Linked DNA regions of Homo sapiens: regions 2 and 3 are each linked to region 1. The links are contacts of gene promoters, found by promoter capture Hi-C in blood cells and fetal thymus (Javierre and others, 2016). All regions are on one chromosome and are shown on one strand. The core of a region is centred on a gene start or on the middle of the fragment in contact, and the rest is flanking DNA. Distances in the headings are between cores, read along the strand shown.

Region 1 (4,626 bases), core at 1,173-3,672:
CCTCCAGTAACCAGCATGCTCCTGTTAAAATGTAAATCAGATAGTGATATTCTTCTCTTCCGCTCAAGCCCTCCAGTGAGATGGCTCAAGCCATCTCAGAATATAATCCTGTTTCTCTCTCTCTCACCCCATTTCCCACTATCTCTTTTACTCACCCTGCTGCAGACATATGAGCCTCCTTGCCATACTTTGAATCTGCCAAACATGGTCCTGCCTCAGGACTTTTGCACATGCTTATCCCTCTATCTGGCCCTACATATCTCCAGGTATCTGCTTCCAATTCTCTTCATTCAGGTCTCTGCTTAAATGTAGCAGAGAGGCCTTCTCTAATCACTCCATAATCTTCATCACTGTGTCTCCCTGCCTTGCTTTTTCTTCATAAGGCTTCTAACCTCCTGGCATCACATACTTCCTTGCTTATTTGTTCATTGTCTATCACCCTGCTTACATTGACAATGTAAGTGCCATGTAAGCAGAGTCTTGGTTTTGTTCATTGCTCTAGCCCCACACTTGGACTGGTACCTGCCACATAATGGATACCTAACAATATGTGGATTTCCGGGTGACCCCCTGCAGCTTGGGTGGGGTGAGGCCAGGACTTTGCTGCCTCTGCCAGGATTTAGAGTTACTGTCACTGCTGCTCCATGATGTAGACTTTACTGAATGAACAAATACAGGTGGGCCCTATGGAGTAAAGCGAGGTGAGTACTTCATGAAGGGAGACCTTCAGCACCACTACCAGCAGCAGAGAAGTGAAGAAGTTAGGACCCCAACAGAGCCCTCTGAGTTTTGTGGGAAGGGAGGACTTCTTAGGGCCCAGAACGGCCAGCTAGAATGCCTTCCAGAAGTTAGTGGGAAAGGCACAAAGATCACTCCTGCTTAAATTTCTGGTTTCCAGGAGGGGAGATCCAGGCAGGGATGTATGGCCAACGGAGATTCCTAGCCAGAGTGCTGAGAGGACTGTGTGAACTGCAGATTCAGGAAGAGGCTGAGAGACCCCCATGGGGGTGGCCGGTATGCTGAGGCTTGTATGGGAGCCAGATATCCCACATCCCATGGGGTGGTTGCCTCCTCCTGTTTCCAGCCTTTCCAGTGAGGCTGCAGGAAAGAGACACAGCTAAGGCCTGGAGACTCGTGGCACTCCGTCAGGGCATGGTACCACAGATGAGTTGTAAGCCTGCGGGACACAGCATCCAACTCTGAAAGCCCCTTGCTCGAATAACCCTACATCACCGCCTGAGGGCTTCCATATCCTTGGTCTCTTCAGACTGTCATCCCCACCACAATTACTCCAAGAAATTACTGTCATCCCCAAATCTATAACTGGAAACTGAGGCTCAGGAAGGAGACATGACTTCCACAAAATCACACAGTTGGGAAACTCTGGAGTCTGCACTCAACTGGTCTGCAAACCGCACTCTCGGAGACTTCAGGTGAGATGAGGTCAGGTTCTCAGGCCAGGTCCTGAAGTTTGACACCTTGGCGAAATGCACTTTCCTTGACTCAGCACCGCGAGTGAGGCGGAGCCAAGCCCCGAGCAGAAGGGTTTTCTTCCCAGCTGAAGAGGCAGCTCAGCCTAGACCCCAGGCATGGCACTGGACACCCCTGCTGTGGAAACGTGCAGATTTAGATGGAGGGGATTCCTAACCTGGGCAGGATCCGAGTTTGGAGAGATTGGCGCGAAGCTTTAGCAGCAATCTCCGATTCCTGTACAACCATAGCTGGGTTTCTAAGCGTCTAGGGAAGAAGGACTGGGCCCACGACCTGCTGAGCAACTCCCAGGTCGGGGACTGGCGGAATATCAGAGCCTCTACGACCCGTTTGTCTCGGGCTCGCCCACTTCAACTCTCGGGGTCTCTCCGCCTGTTGTTGCACTCGTGCGTTTCTCTGCCCCTGACGCTCTAAGCTTTCTGCTTTCTGCGTGTCTCTCAGCCTCTTTCGGTCCCTCTTTCACGGTCTCACTCCTCAGCTCTGTGCCCCCAATGCCTTGCCTCTCTCCAAATCTCTCACGACCTGATTTCTACAGCCGCTCTACCCATGGGTCCCCCACAAATCAGGGGACAGAGGAGTATTGAAAGTCAGCTCAGAGGTGAGCGCGCGCAGCCAGCGTTTCCCGCGGATACAGCAGTCGGGTGTTGGAGAGGTTTGGAAAGGGCGTGCCGGAGAGCCAAGTGCAGCCGCCTAGGGCTGCCGGTCGCTCCCTCCCTCCCTGCCCGGTAGGGGACCTAGCGCGCACGCCAGTGTGGAGGGGCGGGCTGGCTGGCCAGTCTGCGGGCCCCTGCGGCCACCCCGGGGACCCCCCCAAGCCCCGCCCCGCAGTGTTCCTATTGGCCTCGGACTCCCCCTCCCCCAGCTGCCCGCCTGGGCTCCGGGGCGTTTAGGCTACTACGGATAAATAGCCCAGGGCGCCTGGCGAGAAGCTAGGGGTGAGGAAGCCCTGGGGCGCTGCCGCCGCTTTCCTTAACCACAAATCAGGCCGGACAGGAGAGGGAGGGGTGGGGGACAGTGGGTGGGCATTCAGACTGCCAGCACTTTGCTATCTACAGCCGGGGCTCCCGAGCGGCAGAAAGTTCCGGCCACTCTCTGCCGCTTGGGTTGGGCGAAGCCAGGACCGTGCCGCGCCACCGCCAGGATATGGAGCTACTGTCGCCACCGCTCCGCGACGTAGACCTGACGGCCCCCGACGGCTCTCTCTGCTCCTTTGCCACAACGGACGACTTCTATGACGACCCGTGTTTCGACTCCCCGGACCTGCGCTTCTTCGAAGACCTGGACCCGCGCCTGATGCACGTGGGCGCGCTCCTGAAACCCGAAGAGCACTCGCACTTCCCCGCGGCGGTGCACCCGGCCCCGGGCGCACGTGAGGACGAGCATGTGCGCGCGCCCAGCGGGCACCACCAGGCGGGCCGCTGCCTACTGTGGGCCTGCAAGGCGTGCAAGCGCAAGACCACCAACGCCGACCGCCGCAAGGCCGCCACCATGCGCGAGCGGCGCCGCCTGAGCAAAGTAAATGAGGCCTTTGAGACACTCAAGCGCTGCACGTCGAGCAATCCAAACCAGCGGTTGCCCAAGGTGGAGATCCTGCGCAACGCCATCCGCTATATCGAGGGCCTGCAGGCTCTGCTGCGCGACCAGGACGCCGCGCCCCCTGGCGCCGCAGCCGCCTTCTATGCGCCGGGCCCGCTGCCCCCGGGCCGCGGCGGCGAGCACTACAGCGGCGACTCCGACGCGTCCAGCCCGCGCTCCAACTGCTCCGACGGCATGGTAAGGCCGGGACCCCAGGAAGTGAGGAAGTTAGGGCGGCGCTCGGGATATCAGGGACGCGTTTCCGAGGGCGGGGAGCTGGCCTTGCGGGAGGTTTGGGCCAGGATCCTTCCCGAGAGAGAGGACCCCCTTGTCCTGGGCAGCTGTCACTGGGGTAGCCTGTTTTGGAAGTGTGCGGGCAAGCGTTCGAGCTGCCCCATTGGGGGCGCTATTAGAACACTGCAGCGCGAACGTGAAGATCTTTTTCTCTACTTATCCCTACTTCCAAAATGTAAATTTGCGCCCCTTGGTGACTGTCCGCCCTTGGTTTGGCCCTGCATGTTGCAGACCTCATCTCCTACCCACCCGTAATTACCCCCCCAACCAGGACAGGTCTGGGCCCGGAACTAGAGCCTTAGGCTAGAGTTAGGGAGGGGGCGGCTACAGGAATTGGTGTTCGGGCCTCGAGCCGTCCCGCGGGCCTGACTCAGTCGCCCTTGCTGTTTGCAGATGGACTACAGCGGCCCCCCGAGCGGCGCCCGGCGGCGGAACTGCTACGAAGGCGCCTACTACAACGAGGCGCCCAGCGGTGGGTATTCCGGGCCTCTCCCTGCTCGCTCCTCCTCCTTCATGGAGCTGTCCTGGCCTCTATCTAGGACGCTCCCACCCCCACTCACACACGCCTATGTCCTGGGAAGTGGTGCAGGAGATGAAATACTAAGCAAGTAGCTCCCTGTCTTTTGGATTGTCCCGGACTCTAACTAAAGTCCTCAGTTTCCAATCTGTCTCAAAGTACTGGGCCCGGGGGTGGGAGGCTTGTCGCGGCCCCACCCCTGCTTACTAACCGAGCCCTCCCCGCGCAGAACCCAGGCCCGGGAAGAGTGCGGCGGTGTCGAGCCTAGACTGCCTGTCCAGCATCGTGGAGCGCATCTCCACCGAGAGCCCTGCGGCGCCCGCCCTCCTGCTGGCGGACGTGCCTTCTGAGTCGCCTCCGCGCAGGCAAGAGGCTGCCGCCCCCAGCGAGGGAGAGAGCAGCGGCGACCCCACCCAGTCACCGGACGCCGCCCCGCAGTGCCCTGCGGGTGCGAACCCCAACCCGATATACCAGGTGCTCTGAGGGGATGGTGGCCGCCCACCCGCCCGAGGGATGGTGCCCCTAGGGTCCCTCGCGCCCAAAAGATTGAACTTAAATGCCCCCCTCCCAACAGCGCTTTAAAAGCGACCTCTCTTGAGGTAGGAGAGGCGGGAGAACTGAAGTTTCCGCCCCCGCCCCACAGGGCAAGGACACAGCGCGGTTTTTTCCACGCAGCACCCTTCTCGGAGACCCATTGCGATGGCCGCTCCGTGTTCCTCGGTGGGCCAGAGCTGAACCTTGAGGGGCTA
Region 2 (4,626 bases), core at 1,404-3,903, 510 kb before region 1:
GCATAGCGGCACACGCCTGTAGTCCCAGCTCCTCGGGAGGCTGAGGCAGGAGAGTCACTTGAACCCGGCAGGTGGAGGTTGCAGTGAGCCAAGATCGTGCCACTGCACTCCAGCCTCGTCAACAGAGTGAGACTCCATCTCAAAAAAAAAAAAAAAAAAAAAAAAAAGAATAATTCATGTTATCAAAGAAAAACAAGTTACAAAAAATGCTTTGCACTACTGCTGCTCTGATGCTCTATAAGAACTCTGAGTTCTCAGGAAATTCAACACTCTTTAGGTATAAGTTCACTTATTGAATGTGCTTACTTAAATGCAAAACTTTGTGCTACAGAAAGAGTCCTGGACATGGGAATTAATGCAAGCAATCTTCAATTAATTGAAAATTTTAGAACTATTAATTGCAGAAGAAACAAACTTAGTATACAGTTATTCATTACAAAAAGTTAGTTTCTAAAATTCCTCAATGCAAACATGCCAGCTTTTGTATTCTATAAAACAGAAAAAACTGCCAGGTGCAGTGGCTCAAGTCTTTAATCCCAGCACTTTGGGAGGCCAAGACGGGCAGATCACTTGAGGTCAGGAGTTCGAGACTAGCCTGGTCAACATAGTGTAAACCAGTCTCTATTGAAAAAACACAAAAATGAGCCATGTGTGGTGGCGCGTGCCTGTAATTCCAGCTACTCAGGAGGCTGAGGCAGGAGAATCACTTGAACCCTGGAGGTGGAGGTTGCAGTGAGCTCTCGTGCCACTGCACTCCAGCCTAGGCGACAGAGCGAGATTCAAACAGAAAAAAATTGTAAAACCTGTGATGAAAACATTAAAACATGTTATTTGCAAAGAAAACTGCAGGAAACACGCATATAAAACACAAATAGCAAGACACTTTGATAAGAAAAAACCTACTTTAGAATGTATTAATTCAGCCAAAATTACGGAATTTATGGAAGAAACTCCATATGTGCTTTCTACCTACGTAAAATCACTTTTGAACTAAATCTGAGTTAACAAATAAAATCTCTCTATTCCCAGTTACATTGTTTTTCAGTATGTAACCACTGTCTTGATACTAAACAAATATCTTATATAAAAATAAAATCTGTATACTTCAACTAGGGTCCTTTCGTCTAATTTGCTGCTGTGAATAAGAGCACCATCCTGTCCAGATAAGGTTAGATCAAATTTAAAAAAAAAAAAAGCACCATTCTGCTGGGCATGGTAGACCAGCCTGGGCGACACAGTGAGACCCCATGTCAATTAAAAAAAAAAAAAAGAGCACCAACCCCAACTATGGCAGAGCTGCTAAAGGAGTCTCTTGTGGAGACTTGAACCACAAGCCAAGGAGGCAAAGGTACAAAGTCTCTCCTGGAATTAGTTCCTGGACTTCTGTGCAGCCTTCCCTCTTTCTACTATGTCTTCACCGTTCCCCTACAAACAGCTTTCTTCTTCTTGCATCTCTTATATGCTGTGGCCTTTGATGCTACAATAGATTTAAAAATTTTCCCAACAGAGCTTTTCTGCCTGAAACCCACCAGGAAAGATTTCAGGACATTCTTTAATAACTAATCTTGTTCAAAGAGGCAGGCCTCCTTCGTTTCACTTAATTCAAACCCCCACTGTTCAAAATAAGAATATAATTATAACCTCAATTTCTATCGGGCCAGTATAGGAAAAGAACTACAACAGGCTCTCTCTTCCACGTTATGTCCAGACTTTTTTCCTTAGTTTCTCCTTCCTCATTTCCCTCCTCAATCCCTCCTCCCCCAAAAAATAATTCCACAGCTAGAGAATGTCGTTTTTAAAGCCAGAAATTCAGTGAGGAAAATAAGTATGTGCCTTTTTCTTCAATTATTTATGATTCCTCCGTCACTCAGGAAGAGTTAAGCTAGTATTTTTTAATCTGACCGCTCTCTCAGAAGGATGATGCGCTAAATACACACTGAAAGAATAGTGTTCCCAAAGCAAGTGGATTCGCGGCTAAAGGCAACGCGGTGGGAGTGGGGGGTCCGGGAAGAAGAAAAAGTATCCTTGGCCCCCAGAGCCAGAGATGGGACAGGAGGTGAAAGAAGGGGCCGTCACTGAGAAGTACAACACACACACTCGCCAGAACTAACAATCTGCCAAGAAAATAGGACCGGCCACTGCGGCTCCAGCCCGGTCCCGCGGGACAAGGCGGGGGAGGGGGGCCGGCGGCCGGGGGGCCTGCCCTCCTTCTGTGGGACAAAACTAACTCCCTGGCGCACCTCCGCTCCCGAGAAGAGGGGCCTGGTGGGGACGCGGGCTCCTCGCACCTCCAGCGCAGCACTTGCTCACGGCCTGGGTGGAAGCAAGGCCCGGAGGGAGGGGGGAGTCGGGCTGGGCAACGCCAAGAGCACGGGATGGAGGGTCAGACGCGGGCACCCAAGGCACTGGGGGCCGCGACAAGAGACCCTTCCAGCCCGGGAACCCCGGGGCCCCTCTCCACCCTTGCAGAGCAGGACCCCGAATATCGTCCCCAGCCGCACCGACCGCTCCTCACCTCAAGCTGCCTGAGCCTCCGCCTCTACCACAACCTGAGCCGCCGAAGCCGCCACAGTCCGAGCCATTTTTCCCCTCAGCTGGCTCAGCCGCCGCCGAAAGCTTCGGCCGACTCCACAGCCAGCCAAGCGCAGCACGTCACTTCCGGACAGGGAAGCACCGCCTTCCCCGCCCGGACTTGTTGCGAATTGGCTGGCGCGGACGGCCTACCTGAGCTGGCGGGCGGGGCTTGGACGCTGCCGGGGTGGCGTGAGCAAGGGAGCTGGGGCGCTGGGGCGCACGGGCCCGGGGGACCAGGGTCTGGCTCTCTCCCGAGGAATGCTGAGCAGGCTCTGGACGCCTCTCCGTGCACACCCCAGACCTGGGGAGGGGAGCTCTCCGGACACCCCAGCTGGCCGCCCCTCGGGCCCTGAGTCCGAAGACCCGCTAAACAGGGCCCGGGCACTGAAGTACCCTATTGTTCTCATCCCCTCTCCCGGGACCCCGCACCCTCCTCCATCTAGGCTGAGGTTCCCAGATTTGTGTCTTGGCCCCTGGCGGCGCCGAGATTACTTTGTGATTGGAAGACTGAAAGGAACAGGCAAGACTTAAACTCGTCCACTCCAACCAGTATTTACCGAGGCCTCACGGTGGGTCAGGTGGTATACGGTGGGTAATTAGTAGCCTATCACGTGGTTTCTGTAAAATGCTTGATAGCACGTAAAACGCTTTCAGGTCGGCGTCTCGTTTCATCCTCACAACAGCCAGGTAAGGAAGATAACCCCCTGATAATAACTCACAGCCAGACGGCTCTTTCTACATTACAAAGTATTTTCACATGCAACCTCCATAATAATATATTCTTATTGAGAATTTAATGAGATTATGCTTGTAAAGCGTTTGGTCCTCACGTGTTAGATCTAAAAATTACGTAACCATGGGAAGATATAGGAAAATTATCCCCATTTACAGATGGGGCTTCTGGGGCACAAAGATGTTAAGGGGAGAGGAACGATTCCATAGCGTTTTACAACAAGATTGTCTTTTAAGCAGTAGGAGAAGGGGGTCCACACCATCCAGACGTTCACAATCTGATGTGGCAGACTGATTTAGGCTGCATTTCTCAGCCTAAACTAAAAATTATCAGCCTATATGATATACGCATAATTAGAAGGCTCTAAGAGAAGTTGAACTTTCAGCAAATAACTGGAAAGAAAGAAATTGGCCTGATTTGGCAGGGACGGGGGTTGGCGAAAGGGGGCTAGGGCAATGGGGAATGTGGAGTGGATGAATCCCTCATAGCGCTGTAATAAACATGCCTGCACCTCCGCAGGGATGGTAAAATTGGATGGAGTTTCTATTCTATGGGGAATTCTAGAAACAAATGTGATTATTTCTTACGGCTGTAGCTACTGGCTGTTGTACACCCCCCCCCCTTCCAACTCCTATCTTTCCCCCAACCCCGCCCCTCCTCTATGCACACACACTTCCAGGCAGGCTACACACTCTAGAAGAATGTCCCTTAGAAATCAACTTAGTTCCGCAGCATTGTTCTGCTTTATCTTCTGATCAAAGGAGGAATTTCTAAAATTGGCAGCAGCTCTTTCACAAGATTAAAAAGGGTGGGGAAAGTGATTTATCTCAGGGTAGCTTCCTAGCTTCTGCTCCAGATCTGAGTGTGCCTTCAGGAAAGAAGGAAGAGGCCTTGGGAGAACACTGAGTCTTCAGGAAAGAGTAACTATTTGTCTGTCTTTTTTTTTTCTTTTGTTTTCTTTCTTTCTTTCTTTCTTTCTTTCTTTCTTTCTTTTTCTTTCTTTCTTTTTCTTTCTCTTTCTTTATTCCTCTCTCCCTCTCTCTCTTTCTTCCTTTCTTTTTTTTTGATCCAGCGAGACAGACTGGATTTTTTCTTCTAATTTTTTTTTTTAATGAAACGTATTTCCCCTGAGTCTCAGCAGCAGAGGGCCCTGGTCCTTGAGTCACTTCCTTGTTGCAGTTCTGAATTCATTATTTTATTATAGCTTTTGAATGACTGATACATGGTAGGCTCTGATCAACCAAAAGGTTCCCAATAAGGTGAAGAGAAAGAAAAGGAGTTTGATAGTTTTCCAGATTCCAAAAAAATTAGCTTTCACA
Region 3 (4,626 bases), core at 1,565-4,064, 280 kb after region 1:
GGGTCATATGTGTAGGGTCTTAATCTAATAGGACTGGTGTCCTTATAAAAAGGAAGAGACATCAGAAATCTCTCCCTCTCCACAGGCACACCCAAAAAAGGCCATGCAAGAACCGAGCAAGAAGGTGGTCACCTACAGGCCAGGAAAAAAAAAAAAACTCACGAGAAACCAATCCTGACAACACAATAATCTTAATACTTTTAGCCTCCAGAATGGTGAGAAAATAAATGTCTGTTCTTTCAGCCTCCTAGTTTGTGGTATTTTGTTACGGCAGCCCTAACAGATTAGTACTGTGGTACATCCATACCATCAAATACTACTCAGCAATGAAAAGGAATGAATTACTGATATACACAACTTGGATGAATGTCTACGGAATTATGTTGAATGAAAAAAGCCAACCTCAAAAGGTTATATACTGTATGATACCATTTATAGAACATTTTTGAAATGACAACATCATAGAGATGGAGAACAGAAGAGTGCTTAGCCTAGGGCTAAGAAGTGGTTATAGGCAGGTAGAAATGGGTGTGGCTATAGAAAGGCAACAGGAAGGATTCCTGTGGTAATGGAACTGTTCTATATCTTGACTGTATCAATGTTAATATCCTCATTATGTTATTGTACTATAGTTTTGCAAGATACCATTAGGGGAAACCGGGAGAGAACACACAGGGTCTGTTTTATTTTTGCAGCTGCATGTGCATCTGCAATTATCTCAAAATAAAAAGTTGAATTTTTTTTGAAGTATAATCAATGCTAAGCCCAGGACTATCAGCACAGTCCTGCATTGAGCTCTTCCTCACCTCCTCTCTCCTTCCTCCACTCCACAAGTGGACTCACGAAGCACCTGAGCCTCAGCTGCCACAGCCAATTAGTGCTGTCCTTCAGTTCAAAAGGAGTAAGAGCAGAAAAAATGAAAAGGGGAGAGATAAAAGGGTCACCATTCTCCCACACGCCACCTCCCTGTCCCCCTCACACACAGACTGTCAGTCCCATCACCCACTCACAGTACAGGAGACAAGCTCACTTAAAGCTTTTAAATTAATAAACAATAAAATCCATTAGGAAGGCTGTGCAGTTCCCTGCAAAAAATATGAGCCTTAGGATCCAAACCATCCCAGGCTCTGATCCAAGCTCTACGTTACTCCCTGTATAAGCTTACACAAGCACTTTAACTCTGTGCCTCAGTTTCTTCACATGTAAAATGTAACTCGCATCACTTCCTGGTTGTGAGGATTAAATAAAGTAATCAAATAAATAGCACCTAGCATCATACCTAGAACACAAAGAGCTAGAAAACTTCATTTCCTTCCTCTCTACCTGCTAATGTCTTTCCTACATGACTTCTGCCTTATGTTCTCTCCTTTTCATCAGAACCACAATGCAGCAGGACCCTTTGAAATATTTCCTAAATGGTTTTTCTCCTAAAGTTAAGTTTCCTCTTATTACAGACCTATTTTAAAAGGCGGAGGGCAGGCTGGGCACAGTGGCTCACACTTGTAATCCCAGTACTTTGGAAGGCCAAGGCGGGAGGATTGCTTGAGGCCAGAAATTCAAGACCAGCCTGGGCAACATAGCGAGACCCTGTCTCTACAAAAAATCTTAAAAATTAGCAGGGCATGGTGGCATGCACCTATAGTTCTAGCTACTCAGGAGGCTGAGGCAGTTAGACAGCTTGGGCTCAGGAGTTCAAGGCTACAGCAAGCTATGATCGAGCCACTGCACTCCAGCCTGGGCAACAGAGTGAGACCCCATCTCTAAAAAGTATTAAAAATAAAAATAAAAAAATAAAGATAAGATGATCACCTGTAGCAGCTACTGCATGCCTCAGTCCAGCAGCAATACAAACAACCTTCTCTTTATGGAGCTGTCAAAATAAAGAAAAGGATTTAGATCTCAGAACCATCCATCTACAAAATTTTATGTAATTTATACCAAATACAATGCAGTACGGTCCTCATTATGGGTCTGACTGGTTTAAAGCAACCACTCCCCCCAATATTTCCACCCATTAATACCTCTACATTTATCCCTAAAAGAAAAAAATATATCTTTTAAAATACCATATCACAATACCATATGACAACAACTCTCAGGGCTGGGAGGCACTTCTAAGGTCATCTAGTCCAAGAGTTAGTAAATGTTTTCTGTAAAGGGACAGTTAGTAAATGTTTTACAGGCCACAGTTTCTGTCACACTACTCAGCTGTGCCATTGTAACATAAAAGCAGCTCTAGACTATACATAAATGAATGAGCATGACTGTGTGCCAGTAAGACTTTATTTACCAAGGGCTCAAAGTTTCCCAACATGATCTAGTCCAATCTCCATCCAACAACACCCCACCAAGTGGTCATCCAACTCCTGCCAAACACCTACCCCCAGTGACATAGGGATCGCCATTTCCCCAGGTGCCTGTTCCATTTTTGCACAGTTCCATTTATCTCTTTAGGTGGAACCAAACCTATCTGCCTGCAGCTTCTGACAATGCTTTCCAAATATTTGAAGACAGTTGTCATGTCCTCTCTAAGACATCTTGTAGTGGTTTTAAAAATAGGTCCTCAAATTCTTGCTACTCCTCCCTTCAAGATGTGGAGCTTAATACCCCTCCCCTTGTGTGGGCTGGACTTAGTGACATGCTTTTAATAAAGAGAATAAAGCAGCAATGAGTGACTCAGAGTCTAGGCGAAAAAAGGCACTAAGGCTTCCTGCTTAGCATCTCTCCCTCTCTCTCTCATCACTCCTGGGGGAAACCAGATGCTATGTCTGAAAAGTCCAATAGAAAGGTCCACATGGCAAGGAACATGAAACCATTAGGGCTTTACCACATTTGTTTATTTACAGGTCCACGGAGATTGCAAGCAGACCCAGCTAACATCTCAACTGTAACTTCATGAGAGACCAGCTAAGCTGTTCCTAAATTCCTGACTCTCCGAAACTGTGACATAATAAATGTTTGCTGTTTTAAGCTGCTAAGGTTTGCAGTAATTTGTTACACAGCAATAGATAACTAATGAAGATCTTTTCTTCAAAGCAAATATCCCCCATTCATCAGCCATCACTGGATTTCAAATTCCCTTCCCCTCCTGGTCTTCACTTCTCTAAATATGCTCTAGTTGTTCAATCTTTCTCTTTTAAAGGAACTCTATAGCATAATCATAACCCCATTAAGGCTTACCACATTTGTTTATTTACAGGTCCACAGTGTCTTTCTAAACTTTAGGACCCTCAAGGGCAGGACCTGAGTCTTATATACCTTTATGCCCAGGGCCTAAGCACCAAATCCACAACAAAACACAACATCCCAGATGCAGGCTGAACAGCAGAAAGGGCTGAGCTTTGGCCTTCCTTCTTCTGGAAACTATACTTCTGTCAATGGAGTCCACAATCACATTAGCTTACGAGAAGATCAAATCTTAGCGTTAATACAATTTGAACATATTGTCCTTTATATTTTTCTTTTGTTTTTCCCCAAAAAACTAACTGAAGGGCTTTACATGTGACTTCAGTCTCTTTAACACCACTCACCTCCACCTCTTACTCTCCATCCCAACTGTTGCTGCTTTAGTTTGAGCCACAATTGTTTCATTTGGATTGTTAGCAAGAGTTTCCTCAGTAACCTTCCTTCAATCCATCTTCCTATCTGACCTCCCTACCATGTTGTTCTTACCATGTGTCACATACAACCACCCTGATTGCCCCATTCCCACCCACTCTACCCTGGAACTTCCACCTCTTCCTTATATTCCAACCATACTAAACTACTTACGATATCCCAAACTCTCCTGTTTCATTCCGTTGCACCTTTGCTTACATGGTTCCTTCTGCCTAGAATGTTCTTCTTTTGCACCCACTCTGAGCATCCTCCTATCCCAAGACGGGTAAACCTCTATTTAACTTTTGAGACCTAGCTTAAGCCTCTTCTCACCCCACCTTCCCCCAGATGCTCAAAACTCCCTCCTTTGGGGATATACATGCATCTGTCATAGTTCTGACATGGTATTACATTTAAGTATTTATGTGCCTATCATGTCCTACCAAACTATAAAACTCTCAACTGCTAGGACAGGTCTTATTCAACTTTGCTCCCACTGCCTAAACATAGTACCTACACATAATGGTTGTCATTAAATAAATGAATGAATTTCTATTAAATTTCTCTTTGGCACATTGCTCCTATTGTTGCATAGAATGTCACCTGTCAAAATGTTTTTACTCTCTGATTCTGTCAACCAACATATTTTAACCATTGTTCCTCTATTCCTTAATTATATAAAGTATAATTAAGCTAAATTAATTATAACTTATATGTAGGTGCTTACAAGGCCATCTATTTGCAATTGGGAGCTATAATACTTCCTTCAGGGACTACAGAGCCTAGACTTTGTGCATACCATGGGAACCATGACCCGAAATAACAGTCCACAGACCAACAACTGAGTTCAGCAAGCTGGCAGGGGCAGACCCAAGCTTTCTCTAGGGAAAAAACATCTCCCACTATTAATCAGAGTTTAGGGAAATTAGATCGGAGTGGGACAGCTTAGGTGGTAAAACTCATTTTTGATTCAAGCATATTTCTTTAAAAATTCTATATTCCTATTATGATCACTTACAATATAAACTT

Evidence for each region. The method cuts DNA at HindIII sites, captures the fragments that hold promoters and counts their contacts. A CHiCAGO score of 5 or more calls a contact.
Region 2: the fragment with the promoter of PIK3C2A here is called in contact with the fragment with the promoter of MYOD1 in region 1 in 3 of 17 cell types (M0 macrophages, M2 macrophages and M1 macrophages); the score reaches 12.2 in M0 macrophages.
Region 3: a fragment that was not itself captured here is called in contact with the fragment with the promoter of MYOD1 in region 1 in 3 of 17 cell types (M2 macrophages, endothelial precursors and megakaryocytes); the score reaches 6.6 in M2 macrophages.

Annotation. Positions count from the first base shown.
Region 1 is chr11:17,717,149-17,721,774 of GRCh38, forward strand. It overlaps MYOD1 (myogenic differentiation 1), which reads left to right and starts at 2,423. Exons shown (of 3, transcript NM_002478.5): 1 at 2,423-3,264; 2 at 3,754-3,832; 3 at 4,107-4,626. The coding sequence starts at 2,635. The coding sequence ends at 4,360. RefSeq lists enhancers at 3,372-3,883, 3,884-4,395. The HindIII fragment of the contact is 6,670 bases long and covers 1,905-4,626 here.
Region 2 is chr11:17,205,333-17,209,958 of GRCh38, forward strand. It overlaps PIK3C2A (phosphatidylinositol-4-phosphate 3-kinase catalytic subunit type 2 alpha), which reads right to left and starts at 2,654. Exons shown (of 33, transcript NM_002645.4): 1 at 2,516-2,654. RefSeq lists enhancers at 1,921-2,444, 2,445-2,967, 2,473-2,582 and silencers at 2,113-2,372, 2,723-2,802. The HindIII fragment of the contact is 7,601 bases long and covers 2,615-4,626 here.
Region 3 is chr11:17,998,688-18,003,313 of GRCh38, forward strand. SERGEF (secretion regulating guanine nucleotide exchange factor) reads right to left here. Exons shown (of 11, transcript NM_012139.4): 5 at 1,810-1,870. Among named protein-coding and RNA genes, the nearest start is that of SERGEF, 12 kb to the right of the region's middle. The HindIII fragment of the contact is 3,312 bases long and covers 1,159-4,470 here.